2 separate regions of the Homo sapiens genome follow, and region 2 is linked to region 1. Evidence: promoter capture Hi-C in human tissues and cell types (Jung and others, 2019). All regions are on one chromosome and are shown on one strand. Each heading gives the region's core, a stretch centred on a gene start or on the middle of the fragment in contact. The rest is flanking DNA. Distances are from core to core; before and after follow the strand shown. Region 1 holds the start of DBNDD1 (dysbindin domain containing 1). Region 2 holds the start of PRDM7 (PR/SET domain 7).

Region 1 (7,603 bases), core at 1,691-4,190:
CAATGTTCTGGTCCTTACCCCAGCACAGCCCCTATCAAGGGGGACCCAACCCCCCTGCAGGGGCTGCTGGTGCCCTCGCTGATGAGTGGGCACTGAAGGAGCACCTCAGCGAGGGAGCCAGGAGTTGGGGTGCCTCAGCCCGGCCCCCCAGGCTTCCCTGAGGGCTGATTGCTGATGCCCTGTGCTCTGCTGCTGACCTATTTTCCAGCACATTCTCGACTGGGAAACTTGGCCCAAATCCTGTTCCCTGTTGTGTGCCCAGGGCCCCGTCCAGAGCATCGAGGAGGCACTTGGCACACACCACTGTATGGACGGATGAGCTAATGAAGTGAATGAATGAATATCATAAAACTAAATGGCTGGAAGGAGAGATGGTCGCAGAGGCAGGGGCCACCTGCCCCCCATCCCCCAGCACCTTCCTCTCTGGATTTGGACCCCCAAAGTATTTCAGGGATGCTGGAGTGGCCGTGTCTAGACTCTCAGCCTCCTGAGGATCCCTCTGTCCCTGTGGACCCTTGGGCAGACTGAGTTGGGGTGGGTTACAGCCCTGGCTTCCAGGTGGGGCCCTCAGAGAGGGCACAGGTCACATTCCTGTGCACACGTGCACCTCCGTGTTCTGTACATTTCATATTAAGAAATCATTAATTCCTTTAGTTGCAAAAATAGTGTTTTAATAATGCTTTATAAAAATCCTATTTTGCCGGGCATGGTGGCTGACGCCTGTAATCCCAGCACTTTGGGAGGCCGAGGCGGGTGGGTCATGAGGTCAGGAGATCGAGATCATCCTGGCTAACACAGTGAAACCCCGTCTCTACTAAAAGTACAAAAAATCAGCCAGGTGTGGTGGCGGGCGCCTGTAGTCCCAGCCACTGGGGAGGCTGAGGCAGGAGAATGGCGTGAACCCGGGAGGTGGAGGTTGCAGTGAGCCGAGATCGCGCCACTGCACTCCGGCCTGGGCAACAGAGCGAGACTCCGTCTCAAAAAAAAAAAAAATCATATTTTACAGATATTTCTGAATTATTTATCAGTGAAATAATATGTCTAGATTTGGTTCAAACCACTAATGAAGGGAGGTTGGTGGTAGTCTGGAGAGGAGGCTGTGGGCCTGGGGGCTGGGATGTCACACATGGGCCTTTGTCCCGCCGTTCTCTCTACTTTTGTAAGGTTTTCAAAAGTAAGTGATAAGTAATGACAGAGTCACCAATGTGTGATCTCATGAGGTTCCACAAAGTAGGCATCACTGGCCACTTTGCAGACAAGGAAACAGGAGTTGGTGTCAAGAGCGTGAGCCCTCAGAGGACAGGGCCCTGTCTTCCCACTAACTCCCCACCCCAGGCAGGGTACTGCACAGAGCTGCGACCTGTAGGTAAATACCTGTGCACTGATTGAGTCAGGTGTCTGAAGCCCCCAGCCAGTGACTGATGGGCTCAGAAACTGAACCTGCTTTCTCTGCCTTTTAAGCTGCTGGGAAGTCCTCCTTTTTTCCCAAAGGAGGAGGGAAAACATATTAACCTCCACTCCCAAATGCCTTGGGCTCCCACAGCCCTGCAGGGGAAGCAGAACTGTCTCCACTGACAGAAATGGAAATTGAGGCTCACAGGGGCCTGACTGCCCACAGTTCACAGCTGGAAACAGCTCGGAGACCCCCAAGCCCTCACTCCCAACCTCCAGGCTTCCTATGTCCACAAAGCTGCTACTGGGAATACCCAGGAGCCTGGGACTATCAGTGTTAAGAAAGAGCTCTGGTCCCTCCCACAAATGACAAATCAAAACCCAAACCCACCAGCCCTGGGGCATTTGTCCCTATACCTTGGACTGCAGATACACAGGGTGGGTGGACCTGCTCCTCCCGGGGACAGCCCTTCGGGCTCCAGAGGATGCCACTGTGTGCGGCTGGGGGACTGAGAGGTTCCCATGTAGTTCCAGAGCGGCAGGCTGGCCTGCCTGTGCCCTCAGGCACCTGCTGGCTCCCTGGAATGGGAGCTCTAGGAAACCAGGAGGTGGTGGGCTTGGCTGGGCAGGTGGAGGAGTCTGCAGTTTGCATCCAAGTTCCTACCTAGGCAAATGGAACCCCGAAAGCCCTTTTGGAAAAGTCTCTGATCGGGAAGGGGGGAGGTTCTGAGAGCTTTCTTCCCGTTACCGACTCCAAGGTCCTGCAGTAGGGCCTCCACCATCAGGGCAGGGAGCGCTCCACGCGCACCTACCCTCCCCGATGAGCGTGCGCCTGGGCCACTCCCGGACCAGCCACCCTTGCAGCTCTGGAGTCCCCGGCAGGCCGCGCCCGTGCATGCCCCACATCCCCAAGACCCATCTCAGCCCCTCGCCCCTGGCAGGATCCCTGCCCGCGAGTCTACGGCCCTCGCCCCCCGGGACTCGCGGCTGGGCGAACAAAGCGGACGCGCTTGCAAGCGGCCAGCGTCGCCCTCACGCCCCACCGACAGGGACCCCAAACTCCAGCCCCGGAACCCCCCTCCCCCGCTCCCCGGGTCACCGGCTGGCTTGGCTGGGAGGGGGCTCAGGACGAAACTCCGGGCCACCCACCAAGGAGCGTGCCGGGCACGGCTTCCCGGGCCGGGAGCGCAGAGAACAAGGGGGCGGAGACTCGGTCCGTGTGCCCCCAGCCCCGCGCGGGGACCGCGCCCGGGAGGTGCCCCTGGCCCGCCGGACGACCCCGAGCTGCCAAAGGGGTCTTCGCGACTCCCGGGAGCGGCGAAGGGTGAGCCCTGGGGGGAGGGGCTGCGGCTCGCTGCGGGGAAGCGCTGCGCGGGGGTCTCGGGGGCTGGGGCTGAACTCACCTCCGGTGCCGGCGCCCTCCGGGGGCTCCATGCGGCCGGTGCGGTCTGGGAGGGGCACGGGCGACGGCGGCGTCGCCTGGCCCGGGCGCCCCAACAGCTGCGGCAGCGACTCGGCCCCGGCTCCGGGCGCAGCGCATCGGGGCAGCAACCGGGGGGCCGCGGCGGCAGGGAGGAGCCCGCGGGGCGGGGCGGGGCGCGCAGCTGCTCCCGGGCCCCGGCCCCCTCCCGGCGCCCCCCCAGCCGCAGGACAGGTGCGGCCCCGCCCCGGCCCGCGCGCGCCCCCTGCTGGCCCCTGGCCCAGCGGACCCCTCCCCCGCCGACCCTTCCCTCGCGGGCCGCGCCCCGCCGCGGACACCACCGGGACCTGGCTGCGCCCTCCCGACCCCGGCCGGGCGTCCGGGGCTCCTGCGCACTCACTTGGCGGCCGCGCCCGCTGGCGTCCTCTTGTTCTCTTCCAGGTACTTGCGTGTGGGGCGCCGACTGTGTGCGGGCGCCCCTCGGGGCTGGCGAGGGGCACAGGAGGGGCCTGACTCGCGCTGGGTAATGACAGACTCACAGAGCGCCCTGGATGGCGCGAATTAACGCGGGGGGCGGGTGGGGGCGAGGGCGTGTGCTTGGGAGGCTGGAAGGGGCGGGATGGGGGATGGGAGGTAAGGAGAGGGCGGCGGGCCCGGGCTGCAGAGAGCGCCAAGGCAGTTTCGATGAAACTGACCCCCATGTCCCTATCGCCCAGATTCAGCGATTGCCAGCTCCTGGCCTGGGCCACTGCTTCTCTGTCCTCATTCACTTCCCTCCACTGCTGGGTCATTTTGAAGCAAATTATATACACATTAGATCATTGCATTTGTAAGTACTTCAATATTTATCTCTCAAAGAAAGTCCGTTTGCAGGAGCATTGACTCATGCCTGTAATCCCAGCCCTTTGGGAGGCTGAGGTGGGAGCACAGCTTGAGCTCAGGAGTCCAAGGCTGCCGTGAGCTATGATTGTATGTCTCAAAAAAAAAAAAGAAAAGAAAAGAAAAGAAAAAGTCTAGTCTTCATAAACACTCTTGTTAACCCAGCATCCAGGCCTTCACTGAGTTGATGCCGTGGCCTGAGGCGGTTTACCTGGTGGATAGTGGGTGGCAGGAAGCATCAGACATCAGACAGAGGGCAGTCGGTTTGTTTGTATTAACATTTGCTCTGGGATTTTGCAGGAAACTCAGATGCCATTTATCTGGGTTTCTGAGCTGCACAGCTTGACACTGAATGAAAGTATCTTAAGCCACATATGTGAAGAAAAGGCTCTTTTCTAAAAATCTGAACTCGAATTCAATATGAAAAGAACAGGTCGCAGTGGGCCCTGTCGGGATCCCAGGGAGCCGCAATTCAGGGCTCCCTGAATGATTCATCTCTGCAGCCCACACCGACAGACCAGGATTGCTCTTAGCTTGTGAAAAATGAGTACCCTGTCTAGGCTATCCTGAGCTAACCCTCCTATTCTTGCCCTTTTTGCTGAAAGGAATTATTGTTAATACAGCTATTTAATTCAGGACACTCATCCAGACTTCTGAAGCAAAAAGCCAATCAGCATGAAGCTGCTAGCATATTGGTTTTGTGAAGTAAGTGTTAAATTATAATAATTACCCCCACTGTGCTCTCCAGCGTCACTGTCTGACCACCCTGTCCCAGGGGGAGGAGGCCCCTCTCAGGCCAAGGGAGTCTGGCACAGTGATGCTGGCTCCTGGTTGCCCAGGCACAGTGACCAGCCAGACTTCACAGAGGCCTCAGGGCTTACTATAAATAAATCACTGCTTTGTGCAAGCTGAGCCAATGCAGTTCTTCCAACTGGCTGCTCCTCTCCAAGAACAATCAGGACTTAGGTGGGCAAACAGGAAGTCTCTCATCACAGTGGTTCTCAGATTCCCACCACTGTGTGGGTGCCTGAGGCCTGAGCAAACCCAGCTCATGTGGCAACTTCCTCCCCCAGCTGGACAGGAAGACCTAGGTCCACCAGGCCTTCTTTCATTTCTCACACTTTGCCCCCAGCACAACTTTCTACGAGCATGGATTCTGTACTCTTCATCCCCAGACACATGGGAGAACAAGATCTGCTACAAGACCTTTTCTTTTTTTTTTTGAGACAGGGTCTCAGGTCTCATTCTGTTACCTAGGCTGGAGTGAAGTGGTGTGATCTTGGCTCACTGCAACCTCCACCTCCAGGGCTCAAACGATTCTCCCACCTCAACCTCCCAAGTAGATGACCACTTTTTAAGAAGATGTTAAAGATGAGAGCTTAGGGCTGGGCGTGGGGCTCACGTGCTCCCAGCACTTTGGGAGGCCGAGGCAGGAGGATCACTTGAGGCCAGGAGTTTGAGACCACTCTGGGCAATAAAGCAAGACCCCGTCTCTATTAAAAACTTAAAAAAAAAAGCTGGGTATGGTGTCTCACACCTGTAGTCCTGGCTTCTCAGGAGGCTGAGGTGGGAGGATTGCTTGAGCCCAGGAGGTCGAGGCTGCAGTGAGTTGTGATCACAGCCTAGGCGACAGAAGGAGACCCTGTCTCCAAAAAAAAAAAAAAAAAAAAGCACCTGTTTATGACAAACTCAGCTTTCTGGGTGACATAGATGGTTGTATGTAGGTAACAGGGTGGTTTCACGGATGGCAGATTCATTTTAGAAATTGTAAAATGGCTAGCAGTTTTCAGAACAAGAGATTAGTTAGAAAAGGAAAGTGGCAGCTGTTTGTTTTCTGCAGGGCCTGTCGGGAAGCCTCTGGTTTCTTTTCATCCGTGAGGAGTGGGGAGGAGGCCTCTTCAGGAAGAGCAGTTTATTTTTGTGAAAGGAATACTTACTGATTTCAAACATTTGGAACTAAACTGGAACGTATTTTTCTTTCCGATTTCTGCGTTTTTGAGGTGTGTGTAAACCCACCAGCGCAGCAGCTGGGAGGGCCCTTCAAAGGTGGGCGGGTGGGGTGAGTGAGGCCCAGGGGATAGAGTGTTTGCCCAGATTTGAATCTCATTTGGGGAAAGTTTCAGAGGCTTGGGTGGCTGATTGATCATTCCTTCAATGGTCCTTCATCAGCACGTCTTTACTGAGCACGTGCTGTGTGCTGTTCTAGGCGCTGAAGGATAGAAGTGAAGGGTTCCCCCCTCGTGGAGCTTAGGTTCCAGCAATAAGCAAAACATGCCCTGCAGCGAAAGGCTTCTGGGCTGCCGGCGACATTTTCCCAACGTTCACAACCGGGTTCCTTCCGGACGCCCGTCTCTAGGGACGCACTCCCGCCTTTGGCAGGGCCGCTGCCCGGCGGAGTCTCGCGAGGATCTTGTGACTTATCGCGGCATCGCCCAGCGGTTGCCGGGAAACGGCGTGGCTTCCGGGGGCGGGCGCCCTGGTCCCGGAGTCGCCGCTGGGCCTGTCCGCTGGCGTCATGGTGAGCAGGGGCGGGAGCGGGGCTGGGGTCCTCGGCAGGGGCCCGGAGACCTCGGGGCAGGGAGGCCTCGGTACACGGAGACCCTGGGAATGGGAGGCCTGGAGCGCTGGGTTTCTGGAATTGAGAGCTCGGTGCTCTTGTGGGGGTCTCCGTGGGGCAAACTCAGGATGCTCCCGGCCCCGGGGCCTGGCAGCACTCGGGACTGAGACCTGGGCTGTCCAGAGCCCTGTGCTCACAGGGGTGGTCATAGAACGCCCAGGGCCCGGGGTCGGCGGCGCACGGTCCCCAGAAGAGTGAACATGCGTCAAGGGGACTCTCATCCTGGAATGGCAGACTCGGTCTGTTGGATCCCTGGGACCTAGGGTTTCAGCTCACGAGGCTTTGCAGAGCACCAGGGTCCCCATGGAATAGAGCCGGAGGCAGGAATTACCCTAAGACCTTTGGTCTCCCGGATGGAGAGCCTGGGGCACACCAGAGTGGCTAGAGATCCCTCTACACCAAGGAGGCCCGGACAGGTCCAGTGCCCTTGGAGTGCCCAGGGCACAACCTTGGGATACAGGAACCACTGTTCCCTTGGAAAGCCTGGCAGGAGTCAGGCCCAGACCGAGAAGAGGAAGGCGGAGCTCGTGGCCTCATCAGCTCCATGTCTGTCTTTCTCTTGTAAAGGGCTCTCCCTTTGTGGTACAGGAATTGTCAGTAACTCAATTTCTGGGCAGGTGTGGCAGGGTGGGTTTCAGCTGGTGGGGGGAGGAAAGCTCTGGGAGCCCCACCAAGTCCCTGCAGCTGGCTGTGAAGGTCCCAAATGCTAAGTAATGCTGAACCTTCCTCCACTGCCTTCAGGGCTTTGTGATGAGGTAGCCTTCTTGGAGTGGAGGGATTAAAAAGAGAGCAGTACATTACGAATTAAATTTAAGTAGATGGGTTTTCTGACCCAGGAAGGGTCTTCTGAAAACCGACTATGAAAGAAACTACCAAACTAGGCCAGGAGTCTGGGCGCGGTGGCTCACGCCTGTAATCCCATCACTTTGGGAGGCCGAGGCAGGCGGATCATGAGGTCAGGAGATCCAGACCATCCTGGCCAACATGGTGAAAATCCATATCTATTAAACATACAAAAATTAGCTGGGTGTGGTGGCGTGTGCCTGTAGTTCCAGCTACTCGGGAGGCTGAGGCAGGAGAATCACTTGGACCTGGGAGGCGGAGGTTGCAGCGAGCCGAGATCGCACCACCGCACTCCAGCCTGGCAACACGTCTCTTAAAAAAAAAAAAAAAAAGCAGGGTGTAGTGGCTGACGCCTGTAAACCCAGCACTTTAGGAGTCCAAGGTGGGTGGATCACTTGAGGCCAGGAGTTGGAGACCAGCCTGGCCAACATGGTGAAACCCTGTCTTTACTA
Region 2 (7,603 bases), core at 2,941-5,440, 55 kb after region 1:
ATGGGTGTAATCCCAGCACTTTGGGAGGCCGAGGCAGATGGATCACTTGAGGTCAGGAGTTCATGACCAGCCTGGCCAACATGGTGAAACCCTGTCTCTACTGAAAATACAGAAGATTAGCTGGGTGTGGTGGTGTGTGCCTGTAATCCCAGCTACTCGGGAGGCTGAGGCAGAATAATCGCTGGAACCTGGGATGGGGAGGTGGTAGTGAGCTGAGATCACGCCATTGCACTCCAGCCGGGGTGACAAGAGCGAAACTCTGTCTGAAAAAAAAAAACAAAAAACAAAAAAACGAAGAAAGAGTTAATATCCAGAATATATGAAGAACTCCTATAATACAACAACAAAACAAATAATTAAATAATGGGTGCTATGGGCTGAATTTTGTTTCCCCCAAATTCATATGCTGAAGCACATTTAATACCTCAATATGATGGTATTTAAAGATGGAGCCACTGGTAGGTAATTAGGGCTAGGTGATGTCATGAGGGTGGGACCCTTAGGATGACATTAGTGCTTTTGGTTGGGTGCGGTGTCTCATGCCTGTAATCCCAGCACTTTGGGAGGCTGAGGTGGGCAGATCACTTGAGGCCAGGAGTTTGAGACCAGCCTGGTCAGCATGGTAAAACCCCATCTCCACTGAAAATACAAAAATTAGCTGATGTGCCCCTGTAGTCCCAGCTATGTGGGGGGCTGAGGCAGGAGAATTGCTTGAACCCGGGAGGTGGAGTTTGCAGTGAGCCGAGATTGCACCACTGAACTCCAGCCTGTGGCAACAGAATGAGGCTGTCTAAAAAAAAATCTTCTAGTAGGTATTATTGCTTTTATAAGAGGAAGAGAGAAATTTCTTCTCCTTCCTGCTGTTGGCACACAAATAATTCATGTAAATACACAGTGAGCTGGAGGCTGACTACAAGTCAGGAAGAGAGCCCTCACTGGAACCCAACCATGCTGGCACTCTGATTTTTTACTACCAGGCTTCAGAAATGTCAGAAAACAAATTTCTGTTGTTTAAGCCACTCAATGTGTGGTATTTTCTTGTGGCAGCCTGGGCTGACTAATACAATGGGCAAAAAGCTTGAATAGACATTTCTCAAAAGAAGATACATAAATGGCCAAGAAGCATATGAAAATATGCTTAACATCACTAATCATTAGGGAAATGAAAATTAAAACCACAATGAGATATCACCTTATCCTGTTATGATAGCCTCTGTCAAAAAACCAGAAAATAGCAATGTTGGCGAAGATGTGGAGAAATTAGAACACTTGCTTATTGTTGGTGGGTAGCTTAGTCTGTTTTCTGCTGCTTTCCTAGAATGCAAGAGAGTGGGAAATTTATGTGTTTGTTTGTTTTTTTGAGATGGAGTCTCGTTCTGTTGCCCAGGCTGGAGTGCAGTGGTGTGATCTCGGCTCACTGCAACCTCTGTCTCCCGGGTTCAAGTGATTCTTCTACCTCAACCTCCCAAGTAGCTGGTAATACAGGTGCATGCCACCATGCCTGGCTAATTTTGTATTTTTAGTAGAGATGGGGTTTTGCCAAGCTGGCGAGGCTGGTCTCGAACTCCTGACCTTGTGATCTGCCTGCCTTGGCCTACCAAAGTGCTGGGATTACAGGCGTGAGCCACTGTGCCTGGCCCAGAGTGGGTAATTTATAAAGAAAATAATTATTTGGCTTGTGGTTCTGGAGGCTGGGAAGTTGAAGAGCATGGCACTGGCATCTTGCAAGGGTCTTCAAGCTGCATCATGACATGGTAGAAGGGTAAGTGTGCATGTGAGACAGAGAGAAAGACAGGGAAGGGCCCAACTCATCCTTTTCATCGGAACCCACTCCTGCAATAACTAACCCACTCCTGTGATAATGGCATTAATCCATTCATGAGGTTGGAGCTATCATTACCAAATCACCTCTTAAAGGCTCCACCTCTTAATACTGTTACAATGGCAATTAAGTTTCCAATACATGAACTTCCACACATTCAAACCATAGTAGTGGGAATGTAAAATGGTGCAGACACTGTAAAAAAACAGTATGGCGCTTCCACAAAAAATTAAAACCAGAACTACCTTCTGATCCAGAAATTCCACTTCTGGGTATATAATATATTAAAAAGAATTAAAGGCTGGGCGCGGTGGCTCATGCCTGTAATCCCAGCACTTCGGGAGGCCGCGGCAGGCGGATCATGAGGTCAGGAGATCGAGCCCATGAGGCAGGCGGATCATGAGGTCAGGAGATCGAGACCATCCTGGCTAACATGGTGAAACCCCGTCTCTACTAAAAATACAAAAAAATTAGCCTGGCGTGGTGGCAGGCGCTTGTAGTCCCAGCTACTTGGGATGCTGAGGCGGGAGAATGGCGTGAACCCGGGAGTCAGAGCTTGCAGTGAGCCGAGATTGCGCCACTGCACTCCAGCCTGGGCGACAGAGCGAGACTCCATCTCAAAAAAAAAAAAAAAGAATTAAAAACGATCTCAAAGAGATATTTGCACACTGATAGTTATTACAGCATTATTCACAATAGACAAGAGGCGAAGCAACCTAACATCCATTGACAAATGAATGGATTTTCAAAATGTGGTATATACATGCAGTAGAATATTATTCAGCCTTAAAAAAGAAGAAAATCTTGTCACATGCTGTGACATGGGTGAATCTTGGGAACATTCTGCTAAGTGATTAAATCAGCCAGTCACAAAAAGACAAATGTTTCATGGCTGATTCCACGTATATGAGGTATCTAAAGTAACCAAATTCATAGAAACAGAATTGCAGTTGCCAGGAGCTGGAGGGAGGAAGAAATGGAGTGTTATTGTTCAATGGGTTAGGGTTTTAGTCATGCAAGATAAAGAGTTCTAGGGATCTATTGCACAACAGTGTGCATACAGTTAATAAAGTTGTACGCTTAAAAATTGTTAGAAGAGTAAATATATGTTGTTTGATTTCCACAATAAAAAATAAATTGACTTAAATTGGGGATTTTAACTGAGTTCAGATAAAGATGTATAGATGTGTGGTAAACCACGGGAGATAGATTCCCTCTAAAGAGACATTCTTTTCATGTCAAAACATTTGCAGAAAAGCAAACGCTGGCCTTTCATTCCTCTTACATTACATTAAGGTCTTAAGGAATCTCAAATCCACAGATGGGGAAATCGTAGACCCAATCCAAGTTGCTTTCTCCAGTTTGGGCAGATTGACTGTTTTTACTTCTAAACTCTCCTAACCAAGCAGTAGAAGAGGAAATGAGCTTTGCACTTCTATTTTATAATTATGGTACATTATTTTATCTACTTGATGCTGTCTCTGGTCAGTGACATATGGGAAAGATCAGGGCAACTAAACAGCTCTCTCAAACCCGCTCCAGAATCGAGACAAAGAAGTAGATACATTTTGGTATAAGAGGATCATATAGTATGATGAAATGTACATAAATGATGTATCTTTACTTAATATTATTTCTTCTAAGACATTTAACTCAATAACTATTATGAGATTGGTGTTAGAAAGCTTTTTTGTGGATTTGCAGTTTAATTGTTTTCTTTACTTGTTCTGTGATTTATTAACATTGTTTAGCAAAAACAATGTTTTCTTTTTTTTAAAAAAAGAATGACAATTTTTTTTTTTTTTTGAGATGGAGTCTCGCTCTGTCGCCCAGGCCGGAGTGCAGTGGTGCTATCTCAGCTCACTGCAAGCTCCGCCTCCCGGGTTCATGCCATTCTCCTGCCTCAGCCTCCTGAGTAGCTGGGACTACAGGTGCCCGCCACCGTGCCTGGCTAATTTTTTGTATTTTTAGTAGAGATGGGGTTTCACCGTGTTAGCCAGGATGGTCTTGATCTCCTGACCTCATGATTCGCCTGCCTCGGCCTCCCAAAGTGCTGGGATTACATTGTGCTTGTTTGTTGAACATTTATGTTTTTGAGGGAAGACTCTTTTTCCTTTGTTAAATTCTGAAATGTAGCTGAGACCTAAACCGAGGCCGGTTTCAGGAGGTCACTTTTTTTTCCCCCCGAGACGGAGTCTTCTCATTCTGTTGCCCAGGCTGGAGGGTGGTGGCACGATTTCGGCTCACTGCCACCTCCACCTCCTGGGTTCAAGCTATTTCCCAGCTTCAGCCTCTTGAGTAGCTGGGATTATAAGCACCCATCACCATGCCCAGCTATCTTTTTTGGCATTTTTAATAGAGATGGGGTTTCACCATGTTGGCTAGGCTTGTCTCAAACTCCAGACTTCAAGTGATATGGTTGCCTCAGCCTCCCAAAGTGCTGGGATTACAGGTGTGAGCCACCATGCCTGGCCAGGAGGTCACTTCTAAATCTTACTGGGGGCTATGCACGGTGGCTCATGCCTGTAATCCCAGCACTTTGGGAAGCTGAGGTGGGAGGAACACTTGAGCCCAGGAGTTTCAGGCTGCAGTGAGTTATGATTGTGCCACTGCACTCCAGCCTGGGTGACAGAGTGAGACCTTGTCTGTAATAATAGTAACAATCATCATCGTCATCATCATCATCATCATCATCATCATCATCATCATCATCCCAGCATTTTGGGAGGCCAAGGCAGGCGGATCACTTGAGGCCAGGAATTCGAGACCAGCCTGGCCAACATGGTGAAACCCCATCTCTACAAAAAATACAAAAATTAGCTGGGCAAAGTGGTGCACATCTGCAGTCCCAGCTACTCGAGAAGCTGAGGTGGGAGAATTGTTGAACCTGGGAGGTGGAGGCTGCAGTGAGCCGAGATTCTACCACTGTACTCCAGCCTGGATGACAGAGCAAGACTCTGTCTTAAAAAAAATAAAAATAGGCCAGGTGTGGTGGCTCATGGCTGTAATCCCAGCACTTTGGAAGGCCAAGGTGGGTAGATCACCTGAGGTCAGGAGTTCGAGACCAGCCTGACCAACATGGAGAAATCCCATATCTACTAAACAAAATTACAAAAAATTAGCTGAGTGTGGTGGCGCATGCCTGTAATCCCAGTTATTTGGGAGGCTGAGGCAGGAGAATCGCTTGAACCTGGGAGGCAGAGGTTGCCGTGAGCCAAGATCACGCCATTGCACTCCAGCCTGGGCAACAAGAGCGAAACTCCGTCTTTAAAAAAAAAAAAATCCTCCTTCCCTTCCCTCTTACCTTGCTGCCTAGGTGTCCATTCTTCATCGGAATCTTCTGTGTCATCCACCTGGAGTTTGATGGCCTGCCTTCGGTGACACATGAAAGCTGGTCGAGTGGCTCTGAGACCTGAAAAGAAGCAAAAAATTTTGCTCTGAAACGGAAGAGCTGGGATGAGGAACAAAGGGCAGTGGCAATGGAAAGCACCACAAAGCCAGTGCTGCTCAGTCTGATGAGCTGGGAGAGTCTTGAACAAGGTCAAGATGTGACCTCTGCATGGTCAGTATCCACACACAACCCTGCACTGACGCAAAAGAACAATATTTCCCTCCAGATTTGTCTCCGTGCAAAAGGGAATTGTGGGCAGATGCCGCCACCTGATAATTAAAATAATATAGGGACCAAAGACCTGTTTTATATCGCCCAGGCTGGTCTGTGCCCAGCACTTCCTGTTACCTACAGTAATCAGTGCATTATAGTTCATTTTCACATTCCTATAGCGAGTTTTCTCCCAGTCTCCCATTTCTGCCCATTCTTCCTTGGTGAAGTATATGGAAATGTCTTTGAAGGCATCTTTGACCTAGAGGAAGTAACAGATTCCATCAGTGATTTACTAATACACATCGAGCTGGTCCTTTTCCTCTACCCTGCGTGTAGGGCATAGCCTGGGGCCTCTGGGAGTCTCTGTGAAACATAAAGACCTTCCCTCCTTCTCCAGATTGTGTCCTGTTTAACTGAGCAGACACTGAGCATTTTCCTAGCTCTCTGCTGACACAGAGCAGTCGCTGATGCTAGTGTTCTTTTCTCCCCCATGTCCTGGCCAGGACCAGCTGCCCCCATTCCATGCACATTCAGACAGAGTCACCCAAGGGTACAGGCCAGGAGTCTGCAGCACTCCAGAGATCAGCTCCTGCTGGGAGTCTGGCTTCGCCTCCCCGACTTCTCACCATGGGCTTCCGCTCTGTTCTCTCTGTGTCTCCTTCTGGGCTCTCCTCTTGGGACCTTTCAGGGCTCATGGTGCTGGGACTGTCTAGAAGGCCCTGCTCCAATTCTGAGTGTGGGAAGGGCCCCTGAGTCTCCCAGCTCCTAGGCCAAAGGCTCCTGTGGAAGGAGAAGGTGCTGAGATGGGGCAACAGCCCTGAGCACTACCCAGAACAAGGCTCTGTCTTCTCCATCTGGCTGGGGTGTTCAGAGCAGGAAGACTGGGTTCCTGGTGAGGTCTCGAGCACCCCAGGGAGGTCTGGGGGTACTGATGGGATGGGAAGGCCTCCACTGGCCATGAGCTGCCACCTAATGTAAGCTGGATTTTGTTCTTTTAGTTCCCCTGCAGCTTGGCTCATTTGGAGAAGGGTGGCACAGGTGCCTGGAGGGTTGTAGCTACCGGTGTTTGAGGGGAGTCCTGAGGTGTGAGAGCCAGAGGAGTCTCAAGGAGACCTTGAGGCCCCCTGACTGCTGGGACTTGGGTCACACTGAGGAGCAGGGTTCTGTTTTAGCGAGGCAAAATGAACATTTTGCATAGACAGGATTTGGGGATCTCTACCTGGGGATTCTAGAAAAATCCAGGAGTAAAGCAGTCTGCATCTCTAAGGGGAAGCTATCTCTCAGGTTGAGATTTGGGGTCCCTCAGGCTGAGGGGATTTGAGATGTCTTAGACTGAAGAAATTGGGGTTTCTCAGGTTGAGGGAATTTGGAGTATCTTGAGCTGAGGAGCTTTGGTATCCCTCAGGCTGATAGTATTTGTGGTTTTTCAGGATGAGATTAGGGGTCTTTTAGGCTGAAGAGATCTGGGGTGCTCTAGTTGACAGGATTTGAGATTCATCAGGTTAAGGGGATTTGGGGTTCCTCGGGATGAAAGGATTTGGGATATTTGAGGCTGAGGAAATTCTGGGTCTCGGGTAAAGGAGATTTGGGTCTCTCATTAATGGGTTTTAGGGTGTTTGACACTGAGGTTATTTGGTCCTTGAAGCTGACGGGGTTGAGTTTTCAGGCTATTTAGGTTATCTGTGGTTGGGGAAATCTGGTCTCTCTGAGATATTTAGGGTTCCTCAGGCTGAGGTATTTGGGGTGCCTTAGGGTGAGGGAAATTGTGGCTCCTCAGGCTCAGAATATTTGGGGATCTAAGCATTAGGAGATTCGATGTTCCTCTGGGTGAAGGGATTTGGGGTCTCTGAAGCTGAGGTACTTTGGGGGTTTCATGCTGAGGGGATTTTAAATCCCTCAAGGTGGCAGGATTTGGGGTCTTTTGAGGCTGAGAGGATTTGGAGCTTCTCAGGGTGAGGGGATCTGGGGTCTCCTAGGCTAAAATTTGAAGGTCTTGGGATGAGGGTTTACAAGGGTTTCACGCTGCACGACAAAGGCTCCCCATGCTCTTCACAGTCTCCCGTTTTCTCCTGCCGCGGTGTTCACCCTGGCCGGGCGTCTTCTCGGAGCCGCTCAGGAGGTGAGACGCGGTGGGTGCCAGCCTGTAGTGCTGCCAGCCAATCAGCGTTGAGACCAAG

Evidence for each region. Contacts are between HindIII fragments. The study calls those that stand out against the background at their distance.
Region 2: a fragment that was not itself captured here is called in contact with the fragment with the promoter of DBNDD1 in region 1 in 1 of the 25 tissues and cell types used here (pancreas).

Annotation. Positions count from the first base shown.
Region 1 is chr16:90,016,516-90,024,118 of GRCh38, forward strand. DBNDD1 (dysbindin domain containing 1) reads right to left here and starts at 2,941. Exons shown (of 4, transcript NM_001042610.3): 1 at 2,796-2,941. The coding sequence starts at 2,826. DRC4 (dynein regulatory complex subunit 4) reads left to right here and starts at 6,165. Exons shown (of 11, transcript NM_001481.3): 1 at 6,165-6,209. The coding sequence starts at 6,207. RefSeq lists silencers at 3,060-3,199, 3,946-4,240. The HindIII fragment of the contact is 9,907 bases long and covers 1-7,603 here.
Region 2 is chr16:90,069,790-90,077,392 of GRCh38, forward strand. PRDM7 (PR/SET domain 7) reads right to left here and starts at 7,542. Exons shown (of 11, transcript NM_001098173.2): 1 at 7,437-7,542; 2 at 6,053-6,206; 3 at 5,562-5,685; 4 at 5,127-5,234. The coding sequence starts at 6,121. RefSeq lists a silencer at 7,524-7,603. The HindIII fragment of the contact is 7,666 bases long and covers 358-7,603 here.